Linked DNA regions of Homo sapiens: region 2 is linked to region 1. The links are contacts of gene promoters, found by promoter capture Hi-C in blood cells and fetal thymus (Javierre and others, 2016). All regions are on one chromosome and are shown on one strand. The core of a region is centred on a gene start or on the middle of the fragment in contact, and the rest is flanking DNA. Distances in the headings are between cores, read along the strand shown.

The links. The method cuts DNA at HindIII sites, captures the fragments that hold promoters and counts their contacts. A CHiCAGO score of 5 or more calls a contact.
Region 2: a fragment that was not itself captured here is called in contact with the fragment with the promoter of RIC1 in region 1 in 1 of 17 cell types (fetal thymus); the score reaches 7.8 in fetal thymus.

Annotation. Positions count from the first base shown.
Region 1 is chr9:5,627,375-5,633,494 of GRCh38, forward strand. RIC1 (RIC1 partner of RAB6A GEF complex) reads left to right here and starts at 1,733. Exons shown (of 26, transcript NM_020829.4): 1 at 1,733-2,079. The coding sequence starts at 1,936. INCR1 (interferon stimulated noncoding RNA 1) reads right to left here and starts at 2,353. Exons shown (of 3, transcript XR_007061406.1): 1 at 2,193-2,353. RefSeq lists enhancers at 1-142, 2,053-2,553 and a silencer at 1,493-2,032. The HindIII fragment of the contact is 4,913 bases long and covers 1-4,627 here.
Region 2 is chr9:4,598,434-4,604,958 of GRCh38, forward strand. It overlaps SPATA6L (spermatogenesis associated 6 like), which reads right to left. Exons shown (of 12, transcript NM_001353486.2): 11 at 5,746-5,836; 12 at 1-2,376. The coding sequence ends at 5,747. Among named protein-coding and RNA genes, the nearest start is that of PLPP6, 61 kb to the right of the region's middle. The HindIII fragment of the contact is 1,919 bases long and covers 440-2,358 here.

The DNA of each region.
Region 1 (6,120 bases), core at 483-2,982:
GCCTCTTTGTCTAATGGTGTAGCTCAGCTGGATCAGGGTTTCCTCCACGGTTTGTCTGACAAATACTGCCAGCTTACTATGCTTACTATGTTCCAGGCTGCTGTGTTGGACTGGGGGAGGGTAGACGCCAAGGAGACAATCTGATCGCAACAGGCTGGTGAGTGGTGAGGCAGTTTCAACCTCCATTTGAGGAATACAGGATTCTATCATCACCTTCCAGGGAATGCAGTGAATGTTTAGAAAAATTACAGAAAGTTACATATTTGGTTATGAATACCAGCTACAATGCTATATCTAATATGAATTAAGTTTCTTTGTTTCCTTTTTTCTGTTTATGTTGCTACTTTTTTTTTTTTTTTTGAGACAGTCTCACTCTGTTGCCCAGGCTGGAGTGCAGTGGAGGGATCTTGGTTTGCTGCAACTTCCGCCTCCCAGGTTCAAGCGATTCTCCTGCCTTAGCCTCCTGAGGAACTGGGATTACAGGCACCTGCCACCACGCCCAGCTAATTTTTGTATTTTCAGTAAGACGGGGGTTTCACGATGTTGGCCAGGCTGGTCTCGAACTGCTTACCTAAAGTGATCTGCCCGCCTCGGCCTCCCAAAATGCTGGGATTACAGGCGTGAGCCCCAGCACCCCGCCTACGTTGCTACTTTTTAATGTGGGGTCATTTTTTAAACCTGGCTTTTTAATTGAAAAAGTAATACAAACATATGGAAAAATTCAAACTGTACTAAAAAAGGTAGACAATGAGAAGCAAATCTTTCTTCTATTTCAGACTCCTCCTTCCCCCATTCCACACCATATCCCCTCAACCCTCCTTCTATTCAGACGTTACCACTGGGTCAATCCGTTGAAAGTTACAGCTAAGGTGATACCTGGGGTCCAAAAGCTAAATATGGACCTACGCTATCACCAGTCCCTTCCAGTTCTAAAACTAAGTCCAAGCCTTTTGCAGCACGAAAGAGATAGCCTCCTCTCATCTAAAGTTATGGCTGGTAAGGCTGAGACGAATGGAAATGGATTTCAAAGACATAGATTTAGAACTCCTGAAAGGCAGGAGACAGAACTCAATACTTTCATGGTGAGTGGTTTATTTACTGATTAAATAAACGCTCCCTTAGGGATGTAAGCTCCACACCGGCAGGAGCTTCATCACCAGCTCTCACTGCAGACCCCGGCATTAAAGGAGCTCACACGGTAAAAGCCCCTACCGCCCACCACAGCCACAGCGGCCGGCAGCCCAAAGTGGGAAACCGCGCCGGCCGTCACGTGACTCCAGCTCCCCCCGGCAACCGGCCCGCCCCCACCGAGACCCCGCCAATCCGGAAGGGAGGTCCAATTTGGCCAGGCCAGGGCGTGTTCCACCGGCCCAGTAGCCTTGCTGCTGCGTTATCCCTAGACTCGCCCCACTTGCCTCGGAGTCTCAGGCCGTTGCCTAGGTCCTCCCGGTAAAACCCTGGAGACTGCTAGGGAGAGGAGCAAGGGAGGGGCCAGCGCGCAGAAGTGCGGACGCAACCCGGCGGCCGCGGGCGAGGCTTATGCAGAGCTTCAAGAAACAGCTAGGGAGACCGCAGGAGTCTCCAGAGCGCGCGCGCGGGCCCTCCCCGGCCCGACCCACGCGGCGCGGCGTGGTGACGCCCGCGCGGCCTGAGGAAGGGGCGGGGTCGGGGCGGGCCTCCGCGCTCCTCCCGCCCTCTCTGTGTCCCTACTCTCCCTCCCCTTCCCTCCCCCACACTCGGCCCCGTCAGCTTGGGGGTGCCTTCGTCGCGCAGCCTTGCGTCGGCCCGGCCCGGCCAGGCCAGCGGGCAGATGCCCCGAGCTGCCGCCGCCGCCGCCGCCGACTCGGCCGGTGGCGGTGTGGGAGGTGGGCGACCAGCCCGGGGCCGCTGAGTGTGACGGACGCAACTGGGGGCGCCGGGGGCTCCGCACGGACCATGTATTTTCTGAGCGGCTGGCCCAAGAGGCTGCTGTGCCCTCTGGGGAGCCCGGCCGAGGCGCCTTTCCACGTTCAGTCCGACCCGCAGAGGGCTTTCTTCGCCGTGCTGGCCGCGGCCCGCCTCAGCATCTGGTACAGCCGAGTAAGTAGAGCCGCCCGCCGCCTTTCGCCGCTGCCTCCCCGGCCTCCCGGCGCCGTCCCACCCCCAACTTCCACCCAGAGCCTAGGACTCCTGCCCCTTCGTGCCAGACCCACCTGCCTTCGCAGTCCGCGTCCTCGTTCCACCGAATTGGCCGCAGGTACCCGCCGGCTGCAGGCACGTCCTCCAGCCGGCGGTCCGGGGTGGATGAAGTCGCTGCTGCCGAAAATCCCTGAGCCTCCCCGCGTTGGACCGACGGCCGCGGCGTGCAGACTCCGCACGCTCCCCGGCCGAGCCCAGACTTGTTCTTCTCTCCCTTCCCCCATTCCCCGAGGGACAAATTTGTTTAAACTTTCCACAATTAGAAATCCGGCCGCTGTGGTGCCCCAACCCTCCCTTACTTTAAAGGTCGCCGTTTTGGAGTTAGGGAAAGCCTCTTGGGCTTTACCCAGCGCCAGACTTTACAGGCCTGTAATAACTTATTTCTACAAACTACAGCCTGAATTCTTTATTCTTCACTAAAGGTCTGGTTATTTAACTCCCCTCTTTAACCCCAACATCCCTTCCCCACTTTCGAGTTGGTCTTTTTCTTTGCTGCTGCTCTTGGACTCTTCGGAATAGGGGGTTAAAGGAGCGGAAGTAGAACTCAAATCTGTCCGCGGAACTCCCAGTTATAACACCTGGAAATAATAAGGCTTGGGAGGAGCATGGAACTGAATTCTGTTTTTGCTTTAAGTCCTGGTTATCTTTTTCTTTCTTGTATTGAATTACTGAGTAGATATGAGAAAGAAATAAGTGGTGGATGGGATACTCCCTACTCTCTGCAAACACTGCTATAACTTTGTCTATGAGAACGACAGAGTTCAGAGTATAAAAATGCTTTTTTTCCTCCCCAAAGAAGGCAGTACCAATCGATGTCAGAGTGAAGTTTTTCTCCTTTCCAAGTTAATTTGACCATGTGGGGATAGGTTGTGATCTTGTCCTTATTAGGTGTTCGTGAAATACTGGTTTTAGTTTGTTAAAATCCCCAAATCTTTGTGTGTTGCTGTTCCATTACCTGTAATGCCCTTGACAGTCCTCACCCACTTCCCTGGTAATACTGGTGATGGGATTTAGTGACGGGTAATTCTGGTGTCTCCTTTGACTGTCATAGTTGGGCTGTAAATCAGACTATTTGCCATCAAGTTTTGGCTGATCTAATTTTCAAATGCAAATCAGAACAAAACAAACTTATAAAATCGTAATACCAACAATATGACTATTTTGTCTAGTGCCTGATTGTATTTTGAATATATATGTATGTATGTGTGTGTGTATATATATAAACATATGTGTAAATATATATAAAGTATCATCTGGTTCCTAAATGAGATATTCGTTTACAATGTATATGCCAGTTGAATAATTTTTAATTTGTTTAGGTGTATATAACTCAACTTTAAAGCACATGCAGAAAAAAATAGAACTTGAATTTAAATTGTCTTTTGAATTTAATACATAATTCCTTTTGAATGTAACAAATTTAGACTTTCGTCTAAAATTTAACTTTTCTTACCTTTAAAAAGGCAGACCTAACTTAATTTTAAATAAAAGTAAACAATATGACCTATGAATTGACCAGAAGCCTGTAAACCACTTTATTCCCCCATAAGAGAAGCATAAACATATGCTTTAATTTAGGGACATTGTGAATATTCTTAAGCATGTCTATTGTTTGGTTTTGGAGTTACATACGACATCTAGAAATCCAAGGCAGTTCTGGAATTTAAACTATTCATACTCTTCTTTCAAATTCCCACCTCACATGCAACTTCCTTTTTCCACAGAAGTCCAGGGACCCCTACTATTAAGTTCTGTTGTGCAAAAGTTAGGCTGTAGGGAACCCATGGGTTTAGAGGTCTGGAGTGAAATGAAATGCAGGAATACCTTAGAGGAGGCTGTATAGTACTGTAGTATGAGTGGTTAACCTTGGTCTCTGGGCACCAGCTTTGTTGTCACTGAAAAAAATCAGATATTCACGAGGTCAAGAGATCGAGACCATCCTGGCCAACATGGTGAAATCCCGTCTCTACTAAAAATACAAAAAAATAGCTGGGCGTGGTGGTGCACGCCTATAGCCCCAGCTACTCGGGAGGCTGAGGCAGGAGAATCGCTTGAACCCAAGAGGCAGAGGTTGCAGTGAGCCAAGATCCCACCACTGCACTCCAGCCTGGCGACAGAGCAAGACTCTGTCTCAAAAAAAAAAAAAAAAAAAAATCAAATATTGAACCAAGTGATTATAAGGTGTATGATTACATGCCTAGGTGAGTGGGATACATATGCTAGACTCCAGCTTCCAATCTTCTCTTCCTGGGATATGCCCTTTCTTACTCTGTATGAAAGTTTTCATTTTGATTTTCTAATTTGTAAACTTCCTGAAAGTATGTAAGTTAATTAGGTTAACAAACTTCATTTAAAAGTGAAAATGCCTTTAGGTAAATTAAAGGGCTATCAGTTATACTTCCATAATTTAGAGTGAATTGGTTTAAAAAGTTCTCATGGAGCTGCTAAAAGCTTTGATTTTTGAGAGGCTGTAGATACAAGTAGTTTTATAATAATATGTGAAGATCTACAGGATTTTACAGAGTTGAAGTCTTACAGCTGCTTGAGGGCATTTGAAGGCAGGGAGACATGCTCGTAGAGATGATAAAACAAGATTTGCTTACCTGAAATTTTGTTAGGGCTCACTTAGTAAATCAGGCTCTCTTAGGAGTGATATATTTTAAAAAGAGACAACTAGCCTTGTGGAAGGGACAGTCGTTTAGTAGTCTAAGCTGGTTGTTTCAATGTTCAAAAGAATTGTGGAAATTGTATGTGTACAGTGATAATTCATAAGACTGAATCTCTATTAAAATCTCTAACTGTACATTATATGGGTCTTCTAATGAACTTTTATGTACTACTTATACCTACTGTCCTCTATTCTAAGTAGGTATTCGGAATTCCACTGTTTAGACTCATATCTCTTCAGAATTATTTCCTACCCCAAATTTGAGAAATACAGTATAGTGTTGTTTATGAACAAAAGAGCCTCTAGATAGTTACTTAGCTTTTTTATATTGGAGCCCCAATATTATATTTTGGAGCCCCCCAAATGGTGTTAAAAAAAGGCTCAGTATGTGTAGGCTAGATTGGGGTGGTAGAGGTAGAACTTGACTGGGGGCAGTTGGTACATTTCTGCTAAGGTTATTGTAAAAGGACTAGTTTCAGCTTTGAGGATGAAACTGTTGCATAAGGTAGGTTATGATTTATGATTGACGTAGGTGTAGTGTGAGATGAATTACATTTTGTACTGTACTGAGGGCCCAGAATTATTCCTTTAATATACTAACTGTGACTATGAAAGTCTATATATGTGAACATCAGAATGGTATCTTTGAATTTAGCCATTCTAAATTAGATGTATAGACATTCTCGTTTTTCAGGTCACCGACTTTAAACATTTAAATTAGCTTCAGAAGTATTTTTGAACATCAACTGTAAAAGACAGATGTGTATAAAAGGGATGAAGAGACATGTTATATGTTAGTGTGTTAGATGTTAGTGTGTTAATATAAATCTTGTGAGATATCACTGTTGTAGGTAGCTAATAAAAAGCTGAAATGGGCAAATAATTACTAGGCTTATAAAATAAATTATATGTCGTTTAGTAATCCTGAGCAAAAACTTAGTTCCCATTGGTATGTGCTAATCATGGAAAAAAACAATGATATGTCAAAAGAACCAAGCTTTGGATCAGGTATGTGATTAACTGTGTTGACCTCAGGAAGACCATTTTATTTGTATTTTCCCAGCATTCCCATTTCTCACCCTTTTAACTCTATTACTTTCTCCAGAGAGCCTTCTTTATAAATTCACTGCTCTGAAGTCTTCTAGGGTTCACTGTTGATGAAAGAATGGAGTTCAAACTCCTTAGTTTGATATCACAGACACTCCCTTCTTGGAATGCTCTCTTGCCTCATTTCTGCCTGTCAGAGTATTATCTATCCTTTAACTGCTGTTGAA
Region 2 (6,525 bases), core at 149-2,648, 1.0 Mb before region 1:
GCCCCAGCATGATTCCTCAAAATTGAGATAACTCCTTGAGAAACAAAAGTAAAAATAATAATAATTTAAGGAATAGAGTTAATAGATGCAAAAGTAAAGGGAAAAAAAGCGTAATTTAGTGTGAAAACCAAAAATGACTTTAAATAAGAATGGGCATTTAAGATCTTATTAAAGAGTTATGCTTAAACCATTTCAAAAAACACTGAATATTGAATGTCATGGTGTATATTTTAACAATAACTGAAATGGGATACCAATTCATTAGTGCTGCTTTCCTTTAGCTGCTTACGTAAGCAGCCCTCTCCTGAGACTTATAGCGTAACCTTAATGTAACACAATATTTTCTTACTTTTGATGACTACTTAGAGGTAACATCAAAACAACAAATTGACAACCATAGTTTCAGAGAGACTGAGAACATATTAGCATATGTAATTTAAGCTTGCTGTTGGCCTTGCCAAGGTGGAATGCTGGTTGTGATACAGGTTGAGTCTCCCTTATCTTCAGTGCTTGGGACTGACCAGAAGTATTTTAAACTTGGGTTTTGGTTTTTGTTTTTGTATTTTGGAATATTTACATAAACACAATGAAGTATCTTCAGGATAGGGGATAGGACCCAAGTCTAAACACGAAATTCATTTACGTTTTATATACACTTTATACAGGTAGCCTGAAGGTAATTTTATACATGATTTTAAATAATTTGGAGCATGAAACAAAGTTTCGAATGCATTTGACTGCACCCTGCCACATGCAGTCAGATGTGGAATTTTTCACTTATGGTGTTATATTGGTGCTCAAAAAGTTTTGGATTTTGGAGCATTTCAGATTTCAGATTTTTAGATTGGGAGGTTCAACTTGGATATACCTTTATTTGGCTGAAATTCTAAGAAGAGGATAAATGAATTTTGTTTTGTTGTTTTTGTTTTTGGAGTTCCTTTTCTGTTTTAATTTTTAATTTCATTTTCTTAATTTACCTAATGAACCAATCCCTATGATTACAGTGAGAAAAGAAAACTTGGCTCTCACTGAATCTTCTAAAAACTGAACAAGTTTTAGGGTAGTGTCTTACTCTATTCAGGCTGCTATAACAAAATGTCATAAACTGGGTAGCTTACAAACTACAGGAATTCATTTCTCACAGTTCTGGAAGCTGGGAAGTCCAAGATCAGAATGTTGGCAGATGCAGAATCTGGTGAGGGCCCTCTTCCTGGGTCAGAGATGGCGCCTTCTCGCTGTCTCCTCGCCAGTGGAAGGGGCAAACGAGCTCCCTTGAGCCTATTTATAGGGCACTAATCTCATTTATGAGGGGTCCACCCTCACAACCTCATCACCTCCCAAAAGGCCCCATTTCCTTAGAGGTTAGGATTTCAACATACAAATGTTGAGGGGACACAAACATTCACACTATAGTAGGGCTGGTAGAGGAAAATGCTATGCTTACACTATGAAGGAGGGAAATAAGTTTCCATTTTCAGGCCCCTCTTCTCTGGGTCTGTATCAATGAAGACAAATGTGCCTCTAGTCTCCCTTTATCCCAGCCCCTTCCTATTCCTGCTCCCTCACACTGTGTAAGCATTTCATAGATGCACCTTCCTAACTAACTTTAAAACCTGGCATTGGCAGTCCTATCTGTAGAACCTATTTACTTAATGTGTAGTTCTTTTGGAGAAATATTTGAGGAAGGTTTTGTTCCTCATCTAAATTTACAAAGAATTGCTGGAACGAAGGAGTAGGAAACAGAAGGAGCAGTTTAAACTACGCTCCAGAGGAGCCAGCCTCCTCTTACAAATTTATCACAGACATTCAACATCTAAAACAAGATCTGAACTACCCAGACGTAATGCTCTCTTTTCCAAGGTTTTTAGTGGACTTCACGTAAATCAAGCCTAACACTAAGAAATAAACAAACAACAACAAAAACGGATCTACCGAAAAGAGAAAGTCAGGTTGATAGTCTTTCCTGGAGGATTTATCAGGTTATTCCTGTGAATAGCAACTTCCTCTAGCTCATATATAATTAATTTGAGAGAGAGAGACAGAGAGAGCCAGAGAGAGCCAGAGAGAGAGAGAGGGGAAGTGTTCAGATAAGCACCTGCCACCCAACTACAGCGCTTTCTCTTTCATGTTCAAAACAAACATGCAAAAACACAAATTTTCCAGCTTGACAAGAAAATGTTAGCCCCCAAACAGCAAACACTTTAATCAACAACTCTTACCTGGGCACAAAAGACTGAGTACAGGGTTTGGTTTAAAGGGGATTAGACATCAGTGACTCAACACAGACAACAAAAAGTGTTCATTTCTTTAAGGATGCTTCAATTGTCTCAGTGAGTGAGCTCTTCATGATTCTCCTTAAGCTTTCATTAATTTCCCCTGCAAAATTTGAAACATCACATTCTACATGTGGTATTGAGAAAAAGGCAAACAATCAATACAAGTAAGGAGAAAAAGATAATGTCATACTACCCCAATCTTGGCATGTAGCTATGCCTTGGGATCACTTAGTCTCTGAGCTTTTTCCCCAGATTCCCACAACAGAATAACCCAGTGAGCATCTGTGTGACCTTGGACAATTTACTTGACGTCTTTGTAAAATATCAGGATGATGACAGAGTATCTACCTCTTACTATTATAGTGAAGAGTTAGCATTGCTACATAGTAAATGTGCCAAAATAGGTGTTATTCAGTTGAGCTGTTAAACGTGTTCCAATTAACTATATTCTACTGAACAAATTTCCTTCCTTCCTTCCCTTCCCTCCTTCCTCCCTTCCTTCCTTCCCTCCCTCACTCCCTTCTTTCTTCCTTTCTTTCCTTTCTTTTTGATGGAGTCTTGCTCTGTAATTTGGCACTGCACACTGGGGGCCGGGATTTCACGGCAATTATGCCTTCCAAGAGAACTAGGGATAATCTGAGGGGTTTCTTTACGGGAGGTTTTTTTTTTTGTTTGGTTTTTTGGATGTTTGGTTTTTGTGTGGTAAAATTCACCAATTTTAAATATACAAGGGATACTCTGTTTATACCAAAAGTACCAAGTCCCAAAAGATCCAGAAATAGATGTATTCCAACCCCTTCAACCCATTTCTTCCACCCATTCTCTCCCTCTACGTGGTCAGACAATGGGACTCATTGTTTTTGGCTCAAGAATCCCTGACCTTTTTGTGGTAAGAATCTACTTTTTCATCTCCCTGAGATCTCGAGATCGCTGGGGAGCCAGGACCTGGCAGTGAAACAGATATGGAGAAGGGGAGGGACAGGAATTGGTGCTGCCATTAGAAGAGAGTCCTCAAGAAAAGCCGGGACTGGGACACGTAGTGGGAGCCACTGGGTTGTGTGTGGGGGATGCCTCCTGCCTGGGGTCTGTCCTCCCAACCCACAGGAGTGGCTCTGGCTGTCCTGTTCTAGCTATTTGATCTTGCCTGTTTGGATCTTTCCTGGACTCACTGAGATGGATGCTCAGCATCTTTCAAATAAATGCCCCGTTTGCTTAAGACTAGCCAGAGTCACTTGGGTTTTTCACAATCACTAAAGCTTCACTAAAATGACCCTCCAGGATCCCAGCCTCTCCAGGAATCCATGACTCAAGAAGCGGGGTCAGGGAGGATGGTATGGAGACTTCCAGAGAAGGTATTCTAAGCGTATGCCAAACTACTGGGTGGGAATTCCTGTTGTGTGGGAAACCTATTTTCCAAGAAAGAATTGACGTTTTTTTTTTTTCTTTTCTTACCTTCTCTCTATCCCCCCACATCAATGTCCACATATCAGCTGGTTCAGGGCTCTATGTAACTTGATATTACCCATGTTGAAATTCAATGTAATTTGGCATTTGATAATCATGTGGGCTATGTTCCGTATAACCACCTAAATAATTGCCTAGACGGCAATTATTTTGGTAACCAGAGAGTAAATGGCCCAGAATCCGTCCTTTAATCTAGCAAGCAGAACGTTCTAAGGTAGAAGCCTCCAGAATGGGCCATTACTGAGCTGTCCTGCACATTCCTCTGTGCTAAAGGTGGGGAGCCCTGGCCATTCCTAAGGCAAGCCAACTTGTTCTGTAAAGCATGCATGACCCTCAAAACAGACTTTCAGGAGCCTGACTACAGTGAAAACTTAGCAGGTCATCCCACACTCCTTTATTGTTTAGAAAGACGCATAATTATTCTGATCCTGCTGACATGAGGACTATACAGGACAAAGCTATAGGATCCTAGTGGGAGCCTTCCAAAGGCCAATGCCCACGAACTCTGCTTGGGTTCCAAAGGGCCCTCCTTCACACATGGGGAGACATGGATTTCCATGTAAGATTACACTCTAGCTTTGAAAATGCAATAGAATGTAGTGGTTAAGAGAATAAAGCTCCACCATTCACTAGCCATGTCACCTTGAGCAAGGGACCTAACCTATGCCTCAGTTTTCCTATCTGTAAGATGGAACTAATGATAGTACCTATCTCATTGGGTTGTCCTGAGAATTAGATATGAATTTGTTTAATACATGTGAAGTATGTGTACTAGTCTCAGCACTCAGGCCGCATGTCATAAGGAAGAGCGATTATTATTCTGGGCTTGAATGGAAAAGAAAAGAATATATGAGAAACGATGATGTCCCACAATGTGGCTAACTACTTGCCACAGATCTGAATTCTAGAGTTGCCTTGTTACATGCATTCATAATCAATGCATATTCAACATGCATTTATAAAAACTCTTTACTGCGACCGGGCACGGTGGCTCACGCCTGTAATACCAGCACTTTGGGAGGCTGAGGCAGGCAGATCACGAGGTCAGGAGTTTGAGACCAGGCTGACCAACATGGTGAAACCCCATCTCTACTAAAAATACAAAAATTAGCTGGGTGTGGTTGTGCACACCTGTAATCCCAGCTACTCAGGAGGCTGAGGCAGGAGAATCACTTGAACCTGGGGGGTGGAGGTTGCAGTGAACCAAGATTGCGCCATTGCACTCTAGCCTGGGTGACAGAGCTCCATGTCAAAACAAAAACAAAAACAAAAAAAACCCTCTTTACTGAGCAGCAACCATTGTGGAGGGTCAGGTGATACAGAGACAGCAGCAGGGTGGAGATGGGTAGGCAGGTTCTTGTTCAGTGCACACACCTAGTACATGTGTTTGCAAAGTTAAATGTGATTCCATTGTATGGCACTAAATACTGCGTATAAAGCAGTGAACAACAGAGACAGATTCTCTGATCTCATAAGGTTTCACTCCAGTAGAAGAGACAGATTTTAAACAATCAGCCCAGATAAAAATATAATAAGAAATTGTGTCATAATTTATGAAGGAAAAATGCTGTGTACTAAAGGGTACACATCACAGAGAGAGGGAGTGTCGTGTCATAGAAAATCATAAGCCTGGAAGGACAAATAGAAGTTATCCAGGCAGAGTCAGGAAGACATATTCCAGATGGAGAAAACAACATGTGCAGAGACCCCATGGCAGGAAAAAGCTCCGTGTTCAAGAAGCTGAAAGAAGGCCGGAAAGTCTATTAGATAAAGGGTGATGTTGCGGGCAGGGGAGATGATTACAAGAGGAAGCAAGAGAGCTGGAAGGCACGTGCACTGCAGTTATCATACAGAGCAAGGGAAGAACGCAGTTCTCAGGTCTCCTCCAAGTCTCCTGTCCTCCACACTTTCTAGTTACTTCATATTGATAGGAGGAAACTGAAATTCTTTTAGCAAACCAAGATAAGGAGAAGCACTTAAGCTGCTTACTTACATAAGACAGTACCTTAAAAATATCTCTGTTCATGCAGTGAGTATTTCTTCAGAGGGTAGCTTGGTCTTTCAATGATATAATTTACTTCAGAGGTAGAATCTTCCTACAATAAAAACAAATCCAGCAATTATGTTACCCATAACATAATAGAGATGGATGATACCCAGATGTGTAGTTTTGCATGTAGGAGGTCTGTGCATCCCATTTATGCCGTTATATGGGGTTCACTATATATGTGTGTATATAGAATCTTTCTTTTTTTGTAGAGACGAGGTCTCATTATGTTGCCAGGCTGGTCTTGAACCTCCTGGCCTCAAGGGATTCTCCCTCCTCAGCCTCCCAAAGTACTAGGATTATAGATTTGAGCCCCAAACCAGGCCTTTGTTTACATTTTAAAGAGATTCCTTGCCTGAAAAGGTTGGGAATTAAAGCAAAGCCAATGACTTTGCAGAAAAGAATTAAAGTAATTCACTACCCTGATGGTTAGGGCAAACAACATTTAGTTTTAAGTGTCATCCTGCAAATCTAGCATATGTCAGTATATAATAAGTCAAGAGGACTAATTCAACTACATGGCATCATTAAATTCAGCCACTGGGGGCACTGTTGTCCTATATTTGAATTCTTTGAGCAGGTGAACTGCCACTTAGCTGTGTATCTGAATCAGTGACAAAGTACTGGGAATACCTACCAATGGATCAGAAGCACTCCCCATACCCCTGTAAAAGTCATACAGCCAAAACCACCTTATTAAATTCTAGAACAACTTTCTTCCATGTTGTGGCCTTACAT